Regions from separate parts of the Homo sapiens genome. Here all the other regions are linked to region 3. The links are contacts of gene promoters, found by promoter capture Hi-C in blood cells and fetal thymus (Javierre and others, 2016). All regions are on one chromosome and are shown on one strand. The core of a region is centred on a gene start or on the middle of the fragment in contact, and the rest is flanking DNA. Distances in the headings are between cores, read along the strand shown.

Region 1 (2,700 bases), core at 113-2,612, 740 kb after region 3:
TCCAAATGCCAAGGATTTTTAAAAGTGCTTTTGCCCCACCTGATGTAAAGAAATTTCTGTCCATCCAAGAAATCCCCCCAATCCCTAGAAGCATAAAGAAGAAAAATCAAAATCATCAAAATCATTCCCAGGCCTCCCAACCAAAGATAAGCTGTCTTTTTTTTTTTTTCACATTCAGGGTCATAATATAACAGATTCGAACTCACTTTCCTGTTTAATAAACAATGAGGGCCGGTCTTTTCTCCCGCCATTAAACATTCTTCCTCGATACCCTTCCTTGCTGGCTATGGAATGACATATCCATTCTTGGCAGGGCATATTCTAACAGAGAATACACTTCATGGAAATCATGATAGATCAAAATAAAAATTAGTGCACTAATTGGATTAATTCTAGTGTGACTAAATTAACCTAAGCAACAGCCTTTGGTGTAATATGACATTTTGAAGGGTTTGGCAGGCAAAATATCTATTACTAGTAAGTTTTGAATAATATCTGCCACATAACTTAGATAGTTTAATAGGCTAATATATAAGTTAATCTTTAAAAGTCAGCCTATTTTTATAATTAAGAGAACTGATATGAATAGAACGAAGGCACAAGAAGCATTTTTAAAAATAAAATTGTGGAGGAAAAGAGGCATTTAAGAGACAAGAAGAAGAGTGTTTAGGACTGATTAGCCTGAACGTGGAGAAAATAAAGCCAGCATTATGTATGGGGTCTGCTTCCTGTGGTGTCAGAGTCAAGAGATTAACTGTGCCGGTGTGGCCGCTGCGTGCCGGCTGTCAGCGTCTGTATCCTGCTGAATGATCCCCAAGCCCTTGTTCATCTCAAATTCCTTCTGAAAAAGAACATTTATGGAACACATGGAATGTGGCAGGCACCTCACCAGTGCTGACACAGAGACGCAAGAGACTGGAACTGTGCTGTCAGTGACTCAAGGGTAGTGGGACAGGCAGGTGACAAAGACTTGTATCATAGCATTGAGTGACTCAGCCATTCTGTATGTGGTTTTGGGGAGCACAGAGCAAATGGCCTCAGACTGTGTACGTGGGGTAGGGACATTTTCACAGAAGCATTATCTGAACCAGCTCTTGAAGAATGAGAAGTTCAGCATCTGGGCAAGCAGAAGAATGGCTGGTTTCTGGAAAGTCAAACCAAACCAGCATTAAGTGATGGCACATGCGGCGTGCATGCCCAGGCCACTTCTGAGTGGCAGGAAAGGATAGAGAGGAAGTGTAAACCACAGCCCTTGTCTTCAGGATTAGCAGGCCACATTCCCTGTGGCTTAGCCAACCCTGATCCCCACTTCCTTCTCAAAAATGTGTGAAGTCATCATTTTGGACTCATAAAGGTTGAAGAACAGGAGTCAGCTGAAGTCCCAGGCCAATGTTGGTTGCATACCCATCATTTGCAAATCTGGTCTAAATCTTTCTCTCTGATATGTGTCTAAGATTCACTTGGAACAATTGCATATTCTTTTATTCTACCTCACTGTCTGTTCTGAGGAAGTCCCTGCCTACCTTGGCTGGTGACATTGATTCTACAGCCACTTTACAGAGGTAACTGAGAAGTGCAGCTGGCTGGGGTTGGCTGTGGCTGTGGAGTTCTTAGGAGGGTGAGACACAAACCCCAGAGCCTGCTCACTCCGGCCACCCAGGACCTCTTTCTCTTTATGCGGTGGGATTTTGTTCTGAATGTTATCAGAACAAAATACCTTCAGCATCGGGAGCCCATGGGTTTATAGCCAAAATACTATATTACATGAGTGATTTCGAGATCAGTGAACACACACACACACACACACACACACACAAGGCCATAATAGAACTTTCTTTCTTCATAATTATAAAACTAACTTAAAAGTTTGGCATCATAAAACTTACACTGAAATATTTTAATATTAGAGTTGCGTTTTGTTTTGACTAGGAGAAGCCATTTAGCTCAGCTCTTTAGACCCTTTCCTTTGAAGATGTTGTCCACCGCAACCACCCCCCCGCCCAAAATGCTGATGACCAGGGTTGGTTCCACAGCTCTTTCCTGCTACAGTCACATGGCAAAGCCATTCACTGGGTATCCAGAGATATACCACACTGGTCTTCTCTTAAGAAAACTGGCAGCCAGGCACAGTGGCTCACACCTGTAATCCCAGCACTTTGGGAGGTGGGCGGATCGCCTGAGGTCAGGAGTTTGAGACCAGCCTGGCCCACATGGTGAAACTCCATCTCTGCTAAAAATACAAAAAATTAGCTGGGCTTGGTGGCAGGCACCTGTAATCCCAGCTACTTGGGATACTGAGGCAGGAGAATCGCTTGAACCCGGAAGGTGGAAGTTGCAGTGAGCCGAGATCGTATCATTTCACTGCAGCCTGGGCGACAGCGCAAGACTCTGTCTCAAAAAATAAAATGAAATATAATAAAACAAAACTGGAAACTAGAAAATCAAAAGGCACTAGGTAATGCCCAATAGGTAAATCAAGGCAAAATAATGGTGCTTGATTGAGTGGACATCACTCACAATCCTTGGTAGACAATCGGGAACCTACTCTGGGAATTCTTCGTGGACTTGCTGGCAACGTTGATGGTAGTAACTTATCTAAAGTCACTTTTGGGTGTTTGGAAACTATCATGCACTACACAAGTGTCTCCACACCTGTGTTCTTTGCCTGGGTAAGTTAGGAATGTGGAAGAATGTGGGCAG
Region 2 (2,936 bases), core at 138-2,637, 700 kb after region 3:
GGATATGTATGTAAACATTTTGCATTGTACTTAAATTTAAGCATTATACAAATATTATCATCCTATTAATATTCTTCTGCAACTTGCTCAACAGTATGGTTTTATTATTGAGATGTAACTTAGATACCATAAAAATGTACAACTTAATATTTTTTAGTATAATCACAAGGCTGTGAAATTGTCATCACACTCTAAGTCTGGAATATCTTCATCACCCCAAAAAGAAACCCCAAGAAACTTTGTGCCCACAGCAGTCACTTTTGAGTTCCCCTCCCTTCACCCCTGGCGGCCATAAGTCTTCTCTCTGTCCCTGTTCATCGTTATGTTTTTGAGAGAAATGTATTACGATTTCTGAAGTCGTAGTTCATCTTTTTCAGTTGTAATAAATATATAACTGTTTTTCACTTCTGCCAATAGAAATTTAGGTTATTTGTAGTTGTTTTTAAAATTTCTATTTGAACATGACTTGTTTTTTTAAAAAGTATGTTTCACAATTACACACCTTTTAACAATTAAAGTGCCTTTTAACAATTATTTATGCATACATATATATTCTTAGGCACACTGTTTTAGACAGAAGAATAGAATTGCCAGTGTTAATTCTGTCCACCTTTAATTTTAATGTGTAATAAAAATCATTTTCGAAAGTAAGTGTACAAATTGAAAATTCCACCAATAAGGTGTCATTGTCTTTTACAATTTTTCCCATTGGATTGTAGTCATTGTTTATAGAGGCCATGTGTTAATCTTTTATAAAAATCGATTTGTCAAATTTATTATTTGCTTTTTATTTTCTTTATGTTTTCTTTTGAATGAACATCAATTTTAAATTTTAACTGAGTAAAATTTATCAAGTTTACCTTTTGAGTTTTGTGCCTTTTTCATTTTGTTTTAATTTTTTTCTCTATCGCCAAATTTTCAAGTACTTACTCCTGTATTTCCTTTCTCTCTCTCTCTTTTTTTAGCTTTAATTCACCTGCATTATATGTTTGTGCATGGTGTCTGATAGTGGCTCAATTTCAGTTTTTTTTTAAATTGTTTCCGAGGCGTGTTTCAAATATTTGACTTTTTCCCACTGGTCTGAATAGTGCTTCTCAGATACGGCAAGTCTCTAGGTTTGCATGAGTCAGCCTCTGTGCCCTCTGTTCTTTTCCCCGATGTTCTTTTTGCTTCTTCTTATGCTATTACCACACTGTCTTAATTACTATATTTTATTAACAAATCTCACTTTCTGGTAGACCATTTCCTTCACCTACTTCTTCACTTTCCTTCAGGAATGTCTTGGATATTTGTAACTCTTTTCCTTATGATTTAGCATCAGCTTGACAAGTTTAATAAACCTTGTTAGGACTGAGATAAAATTAGAAAGATTGGACATCTTTAAGGTACTGAGTTCTCCTAGCCAGGAATGTGGCACGTTTCCCTATTTCTTTAGGGAATTGTAAAATGTCTTTTTATAACGTTTTATAATTTTCCCCATAGAGATCTTTAAAATATTTTGTTAGATTTATTCCTAGCACCTTATATATTTTGTTACTCTTGTAAAAAGTATCCTTTTTTTTTTTTTTTTTTTTAGAAACGGAGTCTCGCTCTGTCGCCCAGGCTGGAGTGCAGTGGCACGATCTTGGCTCACTGCAAGCTCCGCCTCCCGGGTTCACGCCATTCTCCTGCCTCAGCCTCCCGAGTAGCTGGGACTGCAGGCACCTGCCACCACGCCCGGCTAATTTTTGTATTTTTAGTAGTAGAGACGGGGTTTCACCGCGTTAGCCAGGATGTTCTCGATCTCCTGACCTCGTGATCCGCCCGCCTCGGCCTCCCAAAGTGCTGGGATTACAGGTGTGAGCCACCGCGCCCGGCCAGTATCCATTTTTAAAAACTACATTTTCTCTTTGTTGCTTGGGTAGAGAAATAAAATCAATTTTTAATTTATCTTATATCTGATCATTTTGTTAAACCCTCATATTAATTTTAATGCTTTAAAGATGTTTAGAGGGAAATATTTTATAAATACACAAATAATACCATTTCATGTGTCGCTTACAGATTTTCTCATCTTATTGAACTGGCTAGAGCCACCAATGTATGCTGTAAAAGCAACCTTGTTTTAATCCTTTTTGAAAGGGAATGTTCCAGATTCTACCATGTGGTACCATGTTTGTGCTAAGATTTTGGTAGGTTCAATTTTTTTCAGTTTAAAGAAGTTCTCCTCTAGCCCATTATGCCAATGAATTTAAGCTGAATGGATATAAAAATTAATCAAATATTTTTTAGTGCCTACTGAGGTGATCTTACGCCTTTCTAGTTTGATTTATAAGTAGGGCTAACTATATTAATTGATTTTTCAATGTTAAACAAAATTTACATTTCTGGAATAGATTTAACTTGGTCGTTCTTTAACTTTGCGTTCCCCTTAAAAAGGACCTTGAGAGAAGGGCTCAGCGTCTGATAGTTCCAGCATCTGGCTGTGGAGCTGTATGGCTGAGTCATCATCTGTTGGTTTGTTTGCTGACTTCCAACCTTTGTGCCTAGATATTGAAGTCACCTTCTCTCCCTTTGAAGGGCAGAGACTTTGTGTGTTTGTCCTTTCACTCAGCATGGCTCTTGGAGTTTCTGGCTGCATGAGAAGGTCCTGGGAGACTCTTCCCTTCCAAGAGCCTCCATGTTGTCTTCTGCCTTTTGGGGCTACTGAAACCGCAGCACAAGGTGTAGGGAAATTACCAGGTTCCCCCAGAGCCGTCGTTCCTTGCACCGCCTTTCCACGATGTGTGTGCCCCCTTTTGTTTTGTCCCCTGGGATTTCTCCTACACTCTTGCGAGGTCATTATGAACTTAAAAGGATGTGGATTTTTATTTTATTTTATACCTTAGAGGTCTTTTATAGCAGAGATTTTTCAGGGCATCAAGACTAGACGTTTTGCCCAAAAGGGAAAACCAGAG
Region 3 (2,700 bases), core at 75-2,574:
AAATGCACAATGGACAGGTATTTGGCTGTTCCTGGGATAAAGAAAGACGGGGAAACTTTTGGGAAACGATGTAACAAAGACAGCCCTGTTGAATGTGATCATGTGCTTGGCAAATGCAGTCATTGCTTTCTGTCTCTGCTGCTTTTCACAGGTATAAGCCACTGGCTGATACATTCCTGCGTGAGAAGAAGGAACAGTCAGCTGCCGAGCGATGTCGACTTGTTCTCCAGCAGTGTAAATTACAAGGCTGGCAGGTTGGTGACCTACAAGCTATGAAAATAACATTTTAGGATTTTAAATAAATGAGCTGAGTCATTGCAGGGAGCCACCAGAATCTTCCTGGCAAAAACAAATTCCTTTGATGTGTTTGGCAAGGCGTGACATTAAGTGTATTCCCTGGAAATTTGTCATTCTTTATGACTTACCGATTTTAACATCTTGCAGCCAACATGAGAGGAAATCTAACAGGCTCCCTTTACAACATGACAGAAGCTTATGAGCCCCATTCTGTTTGCCCGTGTGTCAGATTCATACCTTGTCAGTAAAGCATTTTGTCATATTTACCCATAGCAGGAGTCAGAGGAGCCAAAATTGAAGAACTAAGGTTGATTTCTTTGTGCAGAGTTGGTCTCTCATAAGTGCATGTTCAACCTGGACTTCCCCAGCTCGTTCACGTCTCAGTCAGCTCCCCTTTTTTTCTGTTTCTCTTTGCCCTGCTTCTCACCTGCCATACAGTGAAAATGTCACCATCCTTTGAAGCCCATTTGTTGGCAAAAGCTTCATAATTGGAAACACTTTATTATAGTCTGTGATCCATTTGAATGGTAGACCCTAGGGGCCAATGAAAGCTACAGCTAGACTTGCAGAAAAAGAAAATAACCTGAGACAAAATTACAGGCAAATGTTTACCAGAAACAGGAGAAGATGGTTCCAGATTTTGTAAATACCTTCAACAACATCAGAGTCCATCCTTGACTCATTTTAGGAAGTAGAGGTTTGAAGTGAGAAGGGCAGATTAGAGCAACAATGGGAAACCACGCAGTCCATGACACCAGAAATTATTTGGAAGTTTCTTGCTGTAAAACCACCAAAAGTGCATAGGTGGCAAAAACAAATGGTAGCTAAAAGCTTTGATAAAAATATGACGATTACTGGAAAGTAGACATAAATTGCATCTTTAAAAAGTGATAGGGAGAATATCTATGAGTAAAAATATATGATAATTGATGAGTCAAAGGATGGGGACTTGGCTTTAGAAATGACATGAGCTGATGATTCAGAATTGCTGAATAGGTCCAAAAGTGGCCCAGTCTAAGTAAAACAGGGAGGGAAGACTGGATTGACACTCGCACACTCATCTGTCTATGACAAAGAACAAAGAACCTAGAATTTTGGCATTGATGAGTAATGATTTAATTGTCTGTGCCACCCAATCTTTTTCTTTGTTATCTTTTTTCCTTTTCTTTTTTTTTTAACTAATAATGAAATTTGAACTTTAAATAACAATCTGAAGGAGGAAGCTTACTCAGTCTGAAGTTGTCAGTGATGCACATCAGTGCCAAAAGATTGGATAAAAAGGGAAGGAGGAAGAAGGAGGAATTACTAACCAAAAGTGATGTCTGCCAACCCCTCCAGAGTCAGTGACATAGGGGTGGGATTCACATATATCAGCATTTATTCTGTCTATAGGTAACTGAAGTCAGTTCAATGGAATCATTACTGAGATTTTGAATAAGTAATTATATAGTAGTAGTCCACGGATGATGTAACACTAAGATATTCTTATTGTATTATTTTGCTTTTAAAGACTACTTACAGATAATGATATACATATATGTATATGTATGTGTATATATGTATATGTGTGTGTGTGTGTATATATATATATATATCTGTGAGATAGATGTATGTGTATGAGGGAGAGAGAGAGGGAGAATTTTTATTTGTAGAAGAAAGCAAGGGAATCTGTAATAATTATTTCACTAAGAGAGTGATTGGCAGTAACCACAATATCTGAGCAGTGGTCCCTCTGATAGACCACTGTAAAGTACAGGTCAAATATGAGAGGAGACCAGAAGACAAATTGGTAAGCCCTGCCAGCCATCATTTCTTCTATATTGGTGCTTTTGCTAGGATTGCAGCTGAGGATAGCATTAAATTGAAACATACATTGGGACTTTCAACAAGAGCATTAAAATTTATTTTAAATGGGAAAGGGATCCCATTTCATGGCACTAATCTATTTTCTCCACACTTTTCACCTGCCTAAAAGAAGCTGAAAACACAAGACAAAAAAATTAAAAGGAAAGAGAAATAAATGTGCTCATTCACTGAGTATATTTGCTTATGAGTTCCCTGTTGTCTAGTCAGAAAAGACAGTATTTCTTCAGCTTCTTCACGATGTAACCTATGATATACTTTATACTACCAGACAAATAATCAACTTCACAGAAATGAAGCATATTCATACTTCACTTTTATATTGGTCTGACAAAGGAAAAAAAGATTTTGTTAAAAAATAAATAAATAAAACAAAAAACACTCATTCCTAACCTGGAAAGTTAGACTCCTCAGTTTCAAAAGCAAAGCATTTTTTAGATATGTGTTGCTAATTACAGAAAGAATTCCTCCTAGTCAATTCTGTTTTTAATTAATACAGGGATTCAATCAGAAGCTGTTAGGCTGCAGGGACAACAAGGT

What was found. The method cuts DNA at HindIII sites, captures the fragments that hold promoters and counts their contacts. A CHiCAGO score of 5 or more calls a contact.
Region 1: a contact is called between a fragment that was not itself captured here and the fragment with the promoter of MYO16-AS2 in region 3, in 4 of 17 cell types (M1 macrophages, M0 macrophages, M2 macrophages and 1 more). The highest score is 6.5, in M1 macrophages.
Region 2: a fragment that was not itself captured here is called in contact with the fragment with the promoter of MYO16-AS2 in region 3 in 3 of 17 cell types (M2 macrophages, M1 macrophages and M0 macrophages); the score reaches 8.6 in M2 macrophages.

What each region holds. Positions count from the first base shown.
Region 1 is chr13:109,839,510-109,842,209 of GRCh38, forward strand. No RefSeq gene overlaps it. Among named protein-coding and RNA genes, the nearest start is that of IRS2, 54 kb to the left of the region's middle. RefSeq lists an enhancer at 541-1,740. The HindIII fragment of the contact is 2,734 bases long and covers 1-2,700 here.
Region 2 is chr13:109,800,617-109,803,552 of GRCh38, forward strand. All of the region lies in intron 1 of LOC105370360 (a long non-coding RNA gene), which reads left to right. Among named protein-coding and RNA genes, the nearest start is that of IRS2, 16 kb to the left of the region's middle. RefSeq lists an enhancer at 2,406-2,700. The HindIII fragment of the contact is 3,587 bases long and covers 1-2,936 here.
Region 3 is chr13:109,100,634-109,103,333 of GRCh38, forward strand. It overlaps MYO16-AS2 (MYO16 antisense RNA 2), which reads right to left and starts at 1,325. Exons shown (of 3, transcript NR_046538.1): 1 at 910-1,325; 2 at 565-724; 3 at 1-176. MYO16 (myosin XVI) reads left to right here. Exons shown (of 35, transcript NM_001198950.3): 28 at 152-254. RefSeq lists an enhancer at 1-1,016. The HindIII fragment of the contact is 392 bases long and covers 1,127-1,518 here.